6 separate regions of the Homo sapiens genome follow, and all the other regions are linked to region 1. The links are contacts of gene promoters, found by promoter capture Hi-C in blood cells and fetal thymus (Javierre and others, 2016). All regions are on one chromosome and are shown on one strand. The core of a region is centred on a gene start or on the middle of the fragment in contact, and the rest is flanking DNA. Distances in the headings are between cores, read along the strand shown.

Region 1 (2,749 bases), core at 115-2,614:
CTTACAGGCATGAGCCACCACGCCCGGCCTCTTCATAATAAATCTTGCTGCTGCTCACTCTTTGGGTCTATGCCACCTTTAAGAGCTGTAACACTGTGAAGGTCCGCAGCTTCATTCTTGAAGTCAGTGAGACCATGAACCCACCGGCAGGAACTAACTCCACACATAGTTATAGTTATCTCTTGATTATAGGCTAAATAAGGAGGGGATTATTCATGAGTTTTCTGGGAAAGAGGTTGGCAATTGCTGGAACTGAGGGTTCCTCCCCTTTTTAGACCATATAGAGTAATTTCCTGATGTTGCCATAGCATTTGTAAACTCTCATGGCGCTGGTAGGAGTGTCCTTTAGCATGCTAATACGTTATAATCAGCAAATAATGAGCAATGAGGACACAGAGGTCACTTTTGTGGCCATCTTGGTTTTGGTAGGCTTTGGGCCAGTTTCTTTACTGTGTCATCTTATCAGTGCGGTCTTTGTGACCTGTATCTTGTGCCCACCACCTCATCCTGTGGCCAAGAATGTCTAACCCCCTGGGAATGCAGCCCAGTAGGTCTCACCCTCATTTTACCCAGTCCCTATTCAAGATGGAATCGCTCTGGTTAAAAGGCCTCTGACATGTTGAGCCATCCTTTCACCTCAGCCTCTCAAGTAGCTGGACTACAGGTGTGCCACACCATCCCCTGCTAATTTTCCAAAAAAATTTTGGTAGAGAAGGGGGTCTCCTTATGTTGTCCAGGCTGGTCTCAAACTCCTGGGCTCAAACGATCCTTCCATCTTGGCCTCCCAAAGCATTGGGATCACACGCGCGAGCCACCGCACCTGGCCCCACAAGTTTCTTTTAGCACCATGACGGTGGCTTCAAATAGGGCGGCAGTGGAGGTAAGAGGCCATCAGCCACAGGAGGAGCGTGGGTGGGAGGGCAGGAGAGGTCAGAATGCCTTCCAGGGGTTTGGGCCTCAGCGTTGGAGTGATGGAGCTGCCCTGACCTGAGACGGTGGAAAGCGAAGGGGCCTCGCAGCGAGCTGGTTTGGGGTTCAGGGCAGAGGTTGCGCCTGGAGCAGAAAGGCACCTGACTGCTATACTGGGGGCACATAGTGGGCCTCGGCACTCCACCTGCCAGCAAAATCATTTTCTATAACGCCGCAAGCCTAAAAATGGGCCGATAAACACAAACCAGACCCTGAACCAGATCGTTGTTAACTCTTCAACCTGCCTTCCAGCCGAACCTCTTAGGCCAGAGCTGGGACCAGGCCGGGTTGGGCGTCGCGCTTGTCAATCATCTAGAACCGGGTGTGATTGAGCGAGTTGGGATCCCACTGCCGACAGCCGCGCGGAGGCGGTCGGGAAACCGGAAAACGCTTCCAATGGCTGTGTTTCCGGCGACGGCGCGGGGGCAGCTGGGAATCCGGAATGCTGCCCGATGGCCCTGGGTCCTCGCTGTGGGGCAATCCGGGCTTGCAGACGAGGTAAGGTCGATTCCATTTGGCCCGGGGATGGTCACACGCGCGGGGGCCGGAACTGCCGTCGCCGGCGCGGTCGTTGTCGCATTGCTCTCGGCCGCACTCGCGCTGTACGGGCCGCCACTGGACGCAGGTACCCGACCGCTGACCGCCTCTGCTGGCTCGCGGGGGGGAAGCGCCGCCGAGGGGCAGCCCGCGCGCGGGGCCGGGGCGCCGTGTGGCCTGCGGGGCGGAGTAGGGAGAGGACGGAGGCCTCCTGGAACGGCGCGGCGACGGCTGGGCGCGGCTTGGGTGATGGGAGCCTCCGTGCGGGGTGACAGAGGGGCAGAGGGTGGCGCCGGGCCGGAGCCAGTGCGCGTCCCAGGAGCGGCGGAGCCCGCGCGGTGGCCGGGGAACGGGGGGCCGAGGGCCGAGGACGGTAGGAGGGCCCTGGGGCGCCGTGGTGCGCTGGTCGGATCCGTCTGCTCTGCTCTGTCCCCGCTCCCGGTCTGGGAAAGATGCTCGCCAACTGCGGGCTTGCTGTTTGGTCGGAGCTGGATACGGGGGCCCTCCTGGGGCCCAGGGACGCGGCGGGCGTGCAGGCGAGCTGGCCGGCTGAGCGGGCTTCGCGCACACCAGGAGCAGGGCCGTGTCTGCATCCCCAATTTGAAGTCCCAGTGCGACTGGGCAAGTACAGACCCTGCACGTCCTTGGACGAGAGGGACTGGATATTGCGACGCCTGGGCCGCAGAAAAGGACTCCACCAGCCAGGCCTCCTTCGCCCGCCCCCGGTTCGGGGTGTGTGTGTGCGTGTAGGAGGTCCCTTGGGGAGGGAGGCTCACCTGAGTCATCCCCAGAACCTGAAGTGCTGGCCAGATGTCCCCGAGGGCCCTGCCCTGGCCTTGGCTGGTCCTTGCACGCTGAGATGCCTTTTCAAATAGAACGGATAAGGTAGAAAGAATTTAAACAGGAGCTGAGCAAGTGCTTGGAGCCCCATCTCTTCATAGGGTTTTTTTGTCTTTCTGTTTGCCTTGTTGGTATTGGTGTATCTAACATATTTTATACAGGAAGTAGTTCGTGTATATCTCATTTCTCATAAGGAGAGATTGCTGTTATCCACCTTGGTATAGAAGATAAATAGAAGCTCAGAGAAAGTGACTTAGCCAGGATTCTCCAGCCAGTGAGTGGCCGAAATGGTTAAACGCACCATTTGTTGCTGTAGTCATTAGATAGATTTTACCTTGTGTGTATGTTGGGCATCGTCAGAGAGTTTGGCTTTTTGTTTTCATCAGCACACACTGAGAATGCA
Region 2 (2,749 bases), core at 83-2,582, 450 kb after region 1:
GCTTCATCTCTCTCTGGGGTTAAGAGCAGGTGGTGAACACTGCTCCATCTCTTCCTGGGGCTTAGGGCAGGCAGCGGTCACAGCTCCGTCTCTCCCTGGGGTTTACAGCAGATGGTGGTCACTGCTCCACTCCTCCCCAGGGTTTAGAGCAGGCAGCGGTGGTCACCACCTGGTGGTCCATCTCTCCTCGTTGGTAGGACTTTGCAGGCTGTGGGCTGCCTGTTGTCTGGTTCAGCAGAAGTGTACAAGCATCACTGTTGAGGGTGAAGCTCCGCCCCATCTCTGCTCACTCTCTTTTCCTAAAGATCAAGTTGCCCTACTTTTATTTCTAATTGAGTCAGTTAGAAAACCAACTTGTTTTTCTAGTTGCCTAGATGACCAAGTAGGGTACCTAAGAAGCGAATCTGTAAGTAATAAGCATCTAAAGTTGTGCTTTATAGATGATCTTCAGAGTGACCTGTTTATTACTCTAAATGATGAATCAGATACCAGTCTCCACTGTAGAAACATCCTTCCTATCCTAAACAAAATGGAACTCCTGACTATATTCCTGGTCTTCTACCCAATTGGGGATGTAATTCAAGTGTGTCAGGCCTCTGAGCCCACGCTAAGCCATCATATCCCCTGTGACCTACATGTATACATTCACATGGCCTGAAGCACCTGAAAAACCACAAAAGAAGTGAAAATAGCCAGTTTATGCCTTAACTGATGACATTCCACCATTGTGATTTGTTCCTGCCCCACCCTAACTGATCAATTGACCATGTGACATTCCTTCTCCTGGACAATGAGTCTTAAGAGCTCCCCCACCGAGCACCTTGTGACCCCCACCCTTGCCCACAAGAGAAAAACCTCCTTTAACTGTAAATTTTCCACTACCTACCCAAATCCTGTAAAACTGCCCCTCCCCATCTCCCTTTGCTGACTCCTTTTTCAGACTCAGTCAGCCTGCACCCAGGTGATTAAAAAGCTTTATTGCTCACACAAAGCCTGTTTGGTGGTCTCTTCACACAGATGCACATAACAAAGTGTGGGTGATGCGAACAATGTTTATGTAATCAACTTTTGGTTAAATCCCTTCCTTAAAGATTTGAATCTTGGTCTAGAACATCACTCTGGAATGTCATATTTATTGTATCATGTAAATGTCCAATTTAACATCCTATAACCCCACGGCATATTGGGTACACGTGCGGCACAAGTTACCTTATACTCTGAACAAGAAATGGGTCAGGAAGAATACGAGCCTTGTCCTTGCAGATTTTCTCAATTATTCGTCATCTATAATGCATATGTGTAGGGAAACTGGCAGGATGTAGAAATGAATAAAAAGAGGAAACATCTTTTTTCCTTGCTTTATATGACCAGCAATCAGTGCCACTGATGTAGCAAGTGCCATGTAAACATCAGTTATTTTATTCATGTCAATGATCCTGTGTGCTAGAAATTACCTCATTTTATTTATGGGGTGACAGAGGCTCAGAGAGATTAAATAACATGCTGGAGTCTTACATCTTGCAGGCAGCAGAGCCAGGATTTAAACTCACCCAGAGCCTGTGCTTTTCCCTGTGTGCCACGAAGCCCACACACAGCAGTCCACTCTCCTCCAGGTCCCTCACTGCATCTTCCATTCTTCTGGGCAAGGCCTGAGAGCAGAGGCCCTGAAGCCCAGGGCCCAGGCCCCTCAGGGAAGCTTCTGGTGTAAAGCAAAAATAAAATGCTAAGCCCCCTAACCATCTGAATGAACCCCTCTTCTTGGAATGCCAAGGGCATTCCAAAGTTAATCTGAAAAACGAGTTCAGGCTATGATGGGAAGCAGGGGTTGGACATGCCTCAATATACCTTCCGCCCTTTTGGAATTCAGGCACAGCTGACCAGCATTAACATCAACACAGACTTTAAGTCTGATAAGAAGCATTTACAATCTATTCTCTGTGAAGCCTGCTACCTGGAGGCTTCATCTGCATGACAAAACCTGGCTCTCCACAATCCCTTATTATAACCCAGACACTCCCTTCTATTGATTCCAGGTCTTTAGATAAAAACTCTTTCAACCAATTGCCAATCAGAAATTCTTTGAGTCTACCTGTGACCTGGAAGCCCCTGCTTCAAGTTGTCCCACCTTTCCTGACCCAACGAATGTACACCTTACCTGTATTGATTGATGTCTTAAGTCCCCCTAAAATGTATAAAACCAAGGTGTAGCCTGACTACCTTGGGCACATGTTCTCCTGACCTCCTGAGGTTGTGTCACAAGTCATTGGTCCCTCATATTTGGTCAGAATAAACCTCTTCAAATGTTTTACAGAGCTTGACGCTTTTCGTCCACACTATGCAAAGAGAACAAGACAGGGATGGGAGATTTTGGTTCCACTTGGTGGCCAAGGCTCCTGGTTTCTAACCACATGCAGGACCAAGCTGGCACGGCCTGTCACAGCACCCACATCCCTACTGCCTTCTGGAAGCTGCTCCTTTTCCTTCAGGGCTAAGCAGGGACCCAGACCCCTTCCTTCACTGTCCTGGAGGCTCCAGCACCTGGTCACATTTCTGCTCTCAGCCTTGAAATGTGGAGGGCTCATCTCATCTTCTCAGAAAGTAAAACATGTGGCAGCCTCAGTGAGCCCATACAGTTTTCTTCAGGGCAGCCCACATGGCACCTGGCATGGTCTCCTCTCCCTCAAAGCAGGAAAGAGACCTTCTCATGGGTAAGAGAAGGCCCATGGTGGAAACACAAAGGCAGCCATCT
Region 3 (2,749 bases), core at 183-2,682, 400 kb before region 1:
CCAAACCACTCAGCCAGTCCTGGCACTTAACTGGTGAATTAACTGCCTGCTCCATTTTTACAAACGCAGGAAGGACGTTATGAACCTGGGACTCAGCCGCCACACCTCCATAGAGCTGTGTTTCGTTGAAAGGATATGTCAGGAGTCTAGACACAGTATGTGGATAAATATGGGAGAGATTGTTTCAAACCCTAAAGAATTGAATCAAACAGTAAATGGATTAAAGAACCTCAAGCCCCATACTGTGGCACTGCCCCTTCAGGCCAGCAGCATCCAGGGAGTCGGCCAGAAGCACAGACGTGACTCCACGAGGGCCCTGATCCCAAGGTTTGACAGGGAAGGCTGGCTCCTTCTCCCTGAGGCCTGTGACAGTGAGGAAGGAAAAACATTCCCAGACCAGGACTTGTTCAAATGAAGAGCTCCTTAAATACACCCTGCAGTGATGGCCCCAGGACACAATGGCAGAAAATCCTGCTGTAAGGAGTTACAGTGCACAAGGTCACCAATCTGGGGCACCCAGTTTTCGGATATAGGAAAAGTCTGCTCAAACCAGAATAGGACTGAACTCCAAACAGCGGCTAAAATAAATAAATAAATATGGACTTGTGTAGCCCCAAGTAACCCAACATCAGACAGGAAGGAAATGAGAAAGGCAGGTCCATGTAGAAGCTTTCTAATACATTTGGTGGAGTATTTTTAGTACTTAATTAATATGGGCAGTATCGCCATGAGACCAGCGATGATAAGATTTTATAATTCTCAATTTAACCATGGAATGCACTGAGGACCAGAGCCAGATTAACTGATTTCTACAAGTTTCTCACTGAGTCAGCACTACAGCCAGAAATAGAAATGAGGTCAGCCTCCACCATAGTCCCTGTTTTTTCTGGGTCACTAGAGCAAGCCGGTTCCCAGCAGAACATCAAACAATTCACCAACTTCATGTCAGCCCAAGGTACCGACCCTTCTATGTCCATTTCACAGATAGGGAAATTAAGATTCCGATGCTTAACTGACTTGTCGTACGTCACTGGGTGACCCCTCGTGCTGCTGGGAACAGAACACAGAAATCCAAATTCCCAGACCTTGCTTTTACCGCAAGAACACATTCTTTCCCAAATGTCACCAGAAAGTTTAAGCAATCTGTGTATCCCCAGAGCTTTGAAATGAAGGAGCTAAGAAGGAAGTGACTCCTCCATGGACATGGTTCTTGCCATTCCCCACATATTTTTTTAACGTTCTTAATCTTTTGTCCAGATAAAAGTGCACACGAATAATCTAATACTCTGTACCCTGTCCAAGGTTATTATGGGAACCAGAGCAGAGCAAACGGACAGAATAAGCACTTAAACAGCTATACAGTTAGCTGGCGACCAGCATGCAGTATGGGGCCAAATTATTCCTCCAAGATTTTAGCACATTTCCACCAGGATTGTAAGAAGAGCAAAGAGCTGGACATGTTGTGCAAAGGTTATTGGAGCTAGCAGGGTCCAAGCCAGACTTTGCAGCTGCAACTGGCAATGCTACTAACGTGACCACAGTGACCCCCCACTTCCACTGGAGCTCAAGGCAGAATGTGCACAGTTAGAGTCAGGGAGCAACAGGACCCTCGATCATCTGTTTCCCATGGTGTGCTCAAGGCAAGGTCCAAAAATCCATGGCGGCCACAGACTTCATGTCAGGCAAAAATGAAAACCACAACCATTGTCTGTCACAGCAAAGACTATTTAAAATGGAAGAAAGAAACGAGAAACTTGAAAAATACTACACAGAAAGTTTTCGTGCAGCTGAACCTTGTGCTCTCATTCCTGAACATCAGTGCAATGCAGAGCACTGATCAAAAAAGGAAAATCATACGCCAAAGCCGGAGATGACTACTGCTGTGTCCCCAAATGATGAAATTCAGAATTTGTGGAGGGAGAACAAAGTGCCATTGTCTATAAAGATGAAAGAATACAACATGGAGAATAATCTTAGCACCAAAATTAGGCATTGTAAATTAGGCATGAAATAGGGTTTCATGCATGGAGCAACTTAAAATTCTTGCTTAATGCATTATCTAAAGCAAGCATATACTTTTTAAAAAATCCTTAAAATGCGTGGATAGAAAGTCATTTTATAATACCCAATTATTTCCCTTCCTCTTCCAATGCTTGTAGAAACAAGTTCATGATTCAGGAAAGCAAATACTCTAATAAGCTTCCGTCATAGCTAAGTCAGAAATTCAAATACAAATCAAATACCCAGGACAGCTGAAGTTAAAATAGCATGAAGCTTCTAAATGTGGGGGGAAAATATAATTACCAACAACAAAAACTGATGTTAACACAAAATATACCTAGAATAAGCAGTCATCAAAATTCTTACTGTCAAAGGCCTGTTTCAGTGGCTGACATGGAATCCATATCTTTAAATCAAAATTTTAATGGATTTTTCCAATCTGAAATATTAGGATCACGGATCTTCACAATGGACTGAAGCACACACAGAGATGCTGCCAGCTCTCGGGGGCTTCCTCTACGCACGGAATGAGTACGGGTACCGGGTTTGGTACTGAGCACTGAGTGTACTGGGTATGGCAGCCTCCATGTGCTGGGTGCATCCAAGGGAAACAAGCAATGCTTATCAGGGAAACTGCAATTCCTTCTCCACCTCAACCCTGTAACTTCTTCACAGGCAATGAAATTGTTTTATTCATTCATGGTGTTTGAATTCAATAAAATGTCATGGGATGCTGAACTAGCCAATT
Region 4 (2,749 bases), core at 140-2,639, 320 kb after region 1:
TTCAGCCTCCTCGCTGCAGAGGATAAAGAAACCCTGAAGAAGCAGCTCCCAGGAGTCAAGAGTGAAGGAAAGAGAGAAGGCGATGAGGTGGATGGAGTGGATGAAGTGGCCAAGAAGAAATCTAAAAAAGAAAAAGACGAGGATGGTAAGCTTGAAAAGGCCCTAAAGGCCCAGAACGACCTGATCTGGAACATCAAGGACGAGCTAATGAAAGTGTGCTCTATTAATGACCTGAAGGAGATGCTCATCTTCAACAGGCAGCAGGTGCCTTCCGGGGAGTCGGCGATCTTGGACCGAGTAGCTGACAGCATGACGTTCGGTGCCCTCCTTCCCTGTGAGGAATGCTCAGGTCAGCTGGTCTTCAAGAGCGACACTTATTACTGCACCGGGGACGTCACGGCCTGGACCAAGTGTATGGTCAAGACATGGACACCCAACCAGAAGGAATAGGTGATCCCACCGAGAAATCTCTTAACTCAAGAAATTTAAGGTTAAAAAGCAGGACCGTATATTCCCCCCAGAAACCAGTGACCCAGTGGCGGCCATGCCCCCACCCTCCACAGCCTCCGAGCCTGCTGCCATGAACGCCTCTGCTCCAGCAGATAAGCCGTTATCCAACATGAAGATCCTTACTCTTGGGAAGCTCTCCCGGAACAAGGATGAAGTGAAGGCCACGATTGAGAAACTCGGGGGAAAGTTGATGGGGACGGCCAACAAGGCTTCTCCGTGCATCAGCACTAAAGAGGAGGTGGAAAAGAAGAAGAAGAAGATGGAGGAAGTGAAAGAAGCCAACATCTGAGCTGTGTCTGAGGACTTCCTCCAGGACTTCTCTGCCTCCACCAAGGGGCTCCAGGAGTTGTTCTCAGCGCACATCTTGTCCCCCTGGGGGGCAGAAGTGAAGGCAGAGCCTGTTGAAGTCGTAGCCCCAAGAGGGAAGTCAGGAGCTGTGCTCTCCAAAAAAAGCAAGGGCCAGGTCAAGGAGGAAGGTATCAACAAATCTGAAAAGAGAATGAAATTAACTCTTAAAGGAGGAGCAGCTGTGGATCCTGACTCTGGTCTGGAACACTCTGCACATGTTCTGGAGAAAGGTGGGAAGGTCTTCAGTGCCACCCTCAGCCTGGTGGACGTCGTTAAAGGAACCAACTCCTATTACAAGCTGAAGTTGCTGAAGGATGACAAGGAAAGCAGGCATTGGATATTCAAGTCCTGGGACCGTGTGGGCACGGTGATCGGTAGCAACAAACTGGAACAGATGCTGTCCAAGGAGGACACCACTGAACACTTCATGAAATTATATGAAGAAAAACTAGGAATGCTTGGCACTCCAAAAATTCACAAAGTATCCCAAAAAGTTCTACCCCCTGGAGATTGACTACGGCCAGGACAAAGAGGCGGTGAAGAAGCCGACAGTAAATCCTGGCACCAAGTCCATGCTCCCCAAGCCAGTTCAGGACCTCATCAAGATGATCTTTGATGTGGAAAGTATGAGCAAAGCCATGGTGGGGTGTGAGATCGACCTTCAGATGCCCTTGGGGAAGCTGAGCAAAAGGCAAATCCAGGCCGCGTACTCCATCCTCAGGTCCAGCAGGTGGTGTCCCAGGGCAGCAGCGACTCTCAGATCCTGGATTTCTCAAATCGCTTTTACATCCTGATCCCCCACGACTTTGGGATGAAGGATCCTCTGCTCCTGAACAATGCAGACAGTGTGCAGGCCAAGGTAGAAATGCTGGACAACCTGCTGGACATTGAGGTAGCCTACGGTCTGCTCAGGGGAGGGTCTCACGATAGCAGGAAGGACTCCATCGATGTCAACTATGAGAAGCTCAAAACTGACATTAAGGTGGTTGACAGAGATTCTGAAGAAGCTGAGATCATCAGGAAGTATGTTAAGAACACTCATGCAACCAACCACACACGATGCATATGACTTGGAAGTCATTGATAGCTTTAAGATAGAGTGTGAAGAGGAGTGCCAGCACTACAAGCCCTTTAAGCAGCTTCATAACTGAAGGTTGCTGTGGCATGGGTCCAGGACCACCAACTTTGCTGGGATCCTGTCCCTGGGTCTTTGGATAGCCCTGCCTGAAGCACCTGTGATGGGCTACATGTTTGGTAAAGTGATCTATTTCGCTGATCTTGTCTCCAAGAGTGCCAACGACTGCCATACATCTTAGGAAGACCCAATAGGGTTAATCCTGTCGGAAGAAGTTGCCCTTGGAAACGTGTGTGAACTGAAGCATGCTTCACATATCAGCAAGTTACCCAAGGGCAAGCACAGTGTCAAAGGTTTGGGCAAAACTACTCCTGACCTTTCAGCTAGTATCCCACTGGATGGTGTAGAGGTTCCTCTTGGGACCAGGGTTTCATCTGGTGTGAATGACACCTGTCTACTGTATAATGAGTACATTGTCTATGATATTGCTCAGGTAAATCTGAAATATCTGCTGAAACTGAAATTCAATTTTAAGACCTCCTTGTGGTAATTGGGAGAGGTGGCTGAGTCACACACGGTGACTCTGGTATTAATTCACCCTAAGCGCTTCTGCACCAACTCACCTGGCTGGCTAAGTTGCTGGTGGGTAGTACCTGTACTAAACCTCCTCAGAAAGGATTTTGCAGAAATGCATTAAAAGCTTTTTCCCAAATTTTTTAGTCTCTTGTTTTGTGTTGTGTTTGTGGGGAGGGGTTGTTTTTGTTTTTTCTTGCCAGGTAGATAAAACTGACAAGCTGGAGAGAGATTCTGTTTGCA
Region 5 (2,749 bases), core at 105-2,604, 280 kb after region 1:
GAAAATAAAACCCCCAAAGTCAGCAGGACTCTTTAAACCAAATTTATGTAGTTAACGAGGATTAGGAAACAAGGAATCCTCAGAAATGCTTTTCAGGGTAATTAAGCAATGTGGTATTGGCCAATTCAACTGACCTTAGAAACTCTGAGACTAGTTTTACGAACTCTTCTAGGTGCATTTTGAGTCCAATTAGCATGTTAAGTGATCTCTTTTTAAAAATACTAAACAGAATTTAAGATTTATCAGCAATAAGAGAAAATGAAGCATAAATCATTTTTCAAGGACATTTAGACTATACAGTGACATACAGGGACAGACATGTACAATTCGTGCATGAGGGCATGAGGCCACTCTACAATACTAACCAGGCTTTAATTAAAGGAAATGACAAAGGATTTTTTTAAAAAGTGGATGCTCTTAAAAAGGCGTTGAAACTACATTAGAAAAAATATATTAAAACATGGTACAAATAAATGACAATGCTGAATACATCACCATTAAAAAAGACCATTTTGAATTTTATGCAGATCTTCATGTCATGCTTATGATTTTAGCATCTTTCCAGAAATGCTTAACTCATAAAAATCTTGAATTTGATAAAACTGTTAAGTTCATACATTACTATAAAAAGTCTTATCACAGGAATTTTTATGGTGACAAGATATAGTTGTGAAGTACATAATACTGACATTTTATCAACTTTATAGGGAAAAAATGTTTCACTTGGACACACTCATTAAATAAGGTAGAAAAGATGATGTTGGTTCATGAAATTTAACCAAAATCTCTAGATTTTTAAGTGATTAACTGATAGTCACTCAGTTTTCCTTATGCTGTAACTTGCACGGTTGATTTTTTTAAACCAACGGGCAAAACTTTGTGCTTATACTCAGCAAATCTGAGCTCATAATCTGCTTCATTACTTCACACTCCCACCTCTCCCCCTAAGTTCACTAAATATGCCTGCCAAGCTATCACATTTACCTTCTTATTAAGACTTTTTTTTTTTTTTTTTTTTAAATAGAGACAAGGTCTCACTATGTTGCCCAGGCTGGTCTCGAACTCCTGAGCTCAAGTAATCCTCCTGCCTCAGCCTCCCAAAGTGCTGGGATTACAGGTATGAGCCATGACAACTGGCCTAAGACATCTTATATATAGATATAGATGATTTTCCTATAGGAAAGGGAGATGTTTTCAACTTCAAGAGTGACTGGCTGACTGCTTATTTGCAAACTCAAACCTACCTTAAAAACAAAAAACAAAAAACCCAAAAAACGGCTAGGCACAGTGGCTCATGCCTGTAATCCCAGCACTTTGGGAGGCCGAGGCAGGTGGCTTACTGGAGGCCAGGAGTTCAAGACCAGCCTGGCCAACATGGTGAAGCCCCTTCTCTACTAAAAATACAAATTAGCCCAGTGTGATAGCATGCACCTGTAATCCCAGCTACTTGGGAGGCTGAGACAGGAGAATTGCTTTAACTTGGGAGCCGGAGGTTGCAGTGAGCCGAGATCACAGCATTGCACTCCAGCCTGGGTGACAGAGCAAAAAAAAAAAAAAAAAAAATGGTGGGAGAATACTTACAACGAAAATAACTTACCTTAGGGACTTAAATCCTCAAGATCAAATTATACACCAGATCTTGCTGTGATAAGTCAACACACATGTGAGGTACAGAGACCACTGAGGTCAAATCATAGTACAGAAATAGTACAGAAAACATTCACCTTCCCGAATGTGAAAATGTTTTACTGCCAGACCATCAGCAATTTTTATAAGCCCAGGAACATTTACAAGAAGCAAATTAAAAAAAAAAAAAAATTCAGGCACAGTGGCAGATTTTCTTTAATAGATATATTTCAAACAGATACAACAAATTAAAAAATCTAATTCATGGCAGGTAAACATGGGTGCTCAAAAAGTTCCACATAGACATTTACACTTGGGCCATCAGTATTTCCCTCACATTCCCTTTTGTTAAGTCCCATCTTCGCAGTGGCAGTACAGGAGAAATCTCCACCGTCACCGCACAATCCACCAGGCGCATTACCACCTGAAGTGAAGGTCTCATCTCGAAGGTGCGCTCAGCCATAAAAAGAAAACATATTACAGAAAGGAAAAATAAGTGTGCTCTTCCCACCCGCAAAGCGGTCTCACCTTCAGTTCTAGCTTTCTTTACTCCAAAGTCTTCTGAGTCTTCCAAGCATCTCTTTCGATTTGTTCCCACACTAATATGATTAGGAAATACATTCTGATGACCCCCATTTAAGATGCCATTGTTATAGAAATGGTTCAGATGACAATTCTGGAGGTTCAAGAGAAACTGGGCACACTCTTGGAAACCCTGGGTTTGTGCAATGTCTGCTGCTGTCAGGCCACTGGCATTTCTCAGGCTGTACAACACAAAAACACTGAATTACACCCCATCCGCGTGCTAACCTGGTCTCTGCTCCTGCTGAACTGACTAGCTATCTGAAGGTGGTATGAAAGAGTAAACAAATTCATAGCAAATCTTCATTAAAGAAGTAGTTAATCAATCTAGCTCTGTAACTAACTTCTCTTATATACATTTGATTTCTAAGCAAGATTTGGGAGATAAACTAAATATGCTAAACTTCTAAAAAAGGCATCTTCCTATTTAACTTCTCAAAATCATGTTTTATGTTAGTCTGAAGAATCTAAATTTACGCTAACTTCAGACTTGAAACTGAATTCTATATTATATGCACTTAATTTTAATACCCATTCCTTT
Region 6 (2,749 bases), core at 183-2,682, 260 kb after region 1:
TGCATTCACACACATCCAGATACACAAGTCACATTCACACACATGCCCACACCTCGACACAACACCCACATGCAACATTCACACACATCCACACGTGCACAATAGCCACACACGTTCACACATGCACACATATAACATGTTTCACATACACTACCACCCATGCACATCAGCCACACATATAAAACAGTCACACCTGCACACACACAGTCACAAACGTCACACACATATAGCATTCACACATGCACAGCAGCCACATTTACACACATCCACATGCATCACACATTCATACACATCTGCACACACGTCACACAAATCAACATTCATACGTGCGCACACATCATACACATCCACACACATCACGTACATTCACACATAAACATTCACACATTCACACACACCAGATTACCACTCACATCCAATACTCAACGCTTCCCTTCACATTCTCACACATTTGCACACTCACACATTGCCAACGACACACTTCCCTCCACATTCCCCCTACATTCCCACACTGACACGCTCTCACACACTCCCAGTCCTCGCACACATTTGCACACTCACATCCATACATGGACACACATCCTCATGCTCGCTCACTCACATGCATTTGCAAACACTGATACACATCCTCACACGCACACTCGCACACTCAGGGTCTCCCTGGCTGCAGCTGTGCCCGGGCTCACTGTTACCGTTGCTCAGTGCAGACTCTTGGGGTGGTGTCCACCTCCAGCCCCCAGCTCCAGCCGTGCCCTGCCGCAGCCCCCGCTACCCTCCCACCGCCCCGGGACCCCTCACCCGCCCCGGCCCATCCCAACCACGGCCTCGCCCCAACCTTGGCTGCGGTTCCCCAAGCAGAGCCGCGCCAGAACCGCCCGGCTCACCCCCCTCTCCCCGCCCCTGCGCCTCTCTCCCGGTTCCCGCCCTCCTGATGGTTCGTCCCTGCACCCGCGCCGGCGCCCCGCCCCCGGTTCCCGCCCTCCCGAGGGCTCCTCCCTTCCACCCGCTGCCTGTTTCTTGGCTCCCCCTTTCCGGGAAACTCTTCAATGTTTCCCATGTTCTGTCTCCAAATTATTCTCCCGTTTTCTTCTCCTTAATAAAACCCCGAAAATCCAACCTATGGAAAAGTCAAAAAGGGTAATTCAATGAATACCCAGTCTACATTTTCCAGTATTTATCACTAGTTGCTTAGATCTCATCATTCAAAACATTCCAGCAGTTCTCTCACTGTGGCCTGCAGAACCCCAGGGTCCCCAGGACCCCATTTCAGGGGGTCCCCAAAATCAAAACGGTCTCATTACCGAGATGTGATTTGCCTTTTTCAGTGTTGACTTCGGCACTGAGGGTTCAAAAGAAATGGTGGGTAAAGCTACTAGCACCTTAGCAAAAACTGCCCCGGCCTGATCACCTTCATATTCTTCACTGCCGTGCAGTCAAAAAAAAGAAAAAAACCCAATTTCACTTAAGAATGCCCTCAATGCTGTAAACATGAGTAAATTTTGACAGCACACGTTCTCTGTGATGTAAAGGGAAGTGTGCATGAAGGATTTGTTGTGTACAGCTGTCTCCAGGAAAAGCACGGCTCTGGCTGATTGTGCGATAAGTGTATCCAGTGACTTTTTCAGAAACGTCATTTTCATTTGAAATAATGATTGACAAGCTATGTGATTAAAAAAAAAATAACCAGGTTGTAATGCAGTGGCTCAAGCCTGTAATCCCCGCACTTTAGGAGGCCAAAGTGGGCGGATTGCTTGAGGTCAGGAGTTTGAGACAACCTGGGTAAAATAGTGAGACCCCATCCCCCCAAAAAAAAAAAAAATTGCCGGGCATGGTGGTGCACGACTGGAGTCCCAGCTACCTCCAAGGCTGAGTCAGGAGGATCCCTTGAGCCCAGGAAGTCAAGGCTGTAAGGAGCCAAAATCGCATCACTGCACTCCAGCTTGTGCGACAGAGTGAGACCCCGTCTCAATTTAAAAAAACCAAAAAATTAACCAAGTGAGTCTTCTACTTCAAGGAAAACTGACAGTATTTGTGTCCAATGATAAAATTTGAGTTTTTCAGCAAAAATCAGGATGTTGTAAAACTTGTATCCAGTACCATGAGCTTGACAACTTCCAACTTTTGACTTTCATGAGATTATTGGTGATCAATGTTTTATTTTTTTGAGACAGAGTCTTGCTCTGTTGCCCAGGTTGGAATGCAGTGGCGTGATCTCGGCTCACTGCAACCTCTGCCTCCCAGGTTCAAGCGATTCTCCTGCCTCAGCCTCCCAAGTAGCTGGGATTACAGGTGCGTGCCACCACACCCAGCTATTTTTTTTTTTTTGTATTTTTAGTAGAGATGGGGTTTCACCTTGTTAGCCAGCATGGTCTCTATCTCCTGACCTCATGATCCACCTGCCTCGGCCTCCCAAAGTGCTGGGATTACGGGCGTGAGCCACCGCACCTGGCTGGTTATCAATGTTTTAATATTAATGAAAAGTTTCAACATTTGAAAGACTTGCAGAACTCAATTAAAAAATATTTCCCAAGTAATGCATAAAAAATTATGCATGGGTTAAAGGTCCATTCTAAGTGAAAGATGGACTCTACAGGAACGATACAAGAAGCTCACTGATGTGGATCCTGATTCAACATTGCAACTAGCCTTTAAGAAACTACTGTTACTGAATGGAAGGTCTTGACTGCGAGTTGTCCAGGTTCCTGGTGCAGCTGAATAAAGAATGGAACCAAACACACAAAGCAACAAA

Evidence for each region. Contacts are between HindIII fragments. The CHiCAGO score rates a contact against its expected background, and 5 or more counts as called.
Region 2: a contact is called between a fragment that was not itself captured here and the fragment with the promoter of NAXD in region 1, in 1 of 17 cell types (naive B cells). The highest score is 5.2, in naive B cells.
Region 3: a fragment that was not itself captured here is called in contact with the fragment with the promoter of NAXD in region 1 in 1 of 17 cell types (M0 macrophages); the score reaches 5.3 in M0 macrophages.
Region 4: a contact is called between a fragment that was not itself captured here and the fragment with the promoter of NAXD in region 1, in 1 of 17 cell types (naive B cells). The highest score is 5.0, in naive B cells.
Region 5: a fragment that was not itself captured here is called in contact with the fragment with the promoter of NAXD in region 1 in 1 of 17 cell types (activated CD4 T cells); the score reaches 5.3 in activated CD4 T cells.
Region 6: a fragment that was not itself captured here is called in contact with the fragment with the promoter of NAXD in region 1 in 3 of 17 cell types (total CD8 T cells, naive CD8 T cells and naive B cells); the score reaches 5.7 in total CD8 T cells.

What each region holds. Positions count from the first base shown.
Region 1 is chr13:110,614,181-110,616,929 of GRCh38, forward strand. NAXD (NAD(P)HX dehydratase) reads left to right here and starts at 1,365. Exons shown (of 10, transcript NM_001242882.2): 1 at 1,365-1,467. The coding sequence starts at 1,422. NAXD-AS1 (NAXD antisense RNA 1) reads right to left here and starts at 2,173. Exons shown (of 1, transcript NR_182301.1): 1 at 1-2,173. RefSeq lists enhancers at 446-1,373, 2,275-2,324, 2,345-2,394 and silencers at 1,575-1,824, 1,835-1,994. The HindIII fragment of the contact is 4,814 bases long and covers 1-2,749 here.
Region 2 is chr13:111,062,394-111,065,142 of GRCh38, forward strand. No RefSeq gene overlaps it. Among named protein-coding and RNA genes, the nearest start is that of LINC00368, 32 kb to the right of the region's middle. RefSeq lists an enhancer at 1,656-2,186. The HindIII fragment of the contact is 723 bases long and covers 972-1,694 here.
Region 3 is chr13:110,215,839-110,218,587 of GRCh38, forward strand. The region is part of intron 2 of COL4A1 (collagen type IV alpha 1 chain); the gene reads right to left. Among named protein-coding and RNA genes, the nearest start is that of LINC03082, 88 kb to the left of the region's middle. The HindIII fragment of the contact is 1,530 bases long and covers 668-2,197 here.
Region 4 is chr13:110,937,309-110,940,057 of GRCh38, forward strand. It overlaps the pseudogene PARP1P1. Among named protein-coding and RNA genes, the nearest start is that of ANKRD10, 24 kb to the left of the region's middle. The HindIII fragment of the contact is 2,483 bases long and covers 149-2,631 here.
Region 5 is chr13:110,890,874-110,893,622 of GRCh38, forward strand. ANKRD10 (ankyrin repeat domain 10) reads right to left here. Exons shown (of 6, transcript NM_017664.4): 4 at 2,155-2,390. Among named protein-coding and RNA genes, the nearest start is that of PRECSIT, 22 kb to the left of the region's middle. The HindIII fragment of the contact is 9,032 bases long and covers 1-2,749 here.
Region 6 is chr13:110,873,857-110,876,605 of GRCh38, forward strand. No RefSeq gene overlaps it. Among named protein-coding and RNA genes, the nearest start is that of PRECSIT, 4.9 kb to the left of the region's middle. RefSeq lists a silencer at 813-1,032. The HindIII fragment of the contact is 4,114 bases long and covers 1-2,749 here.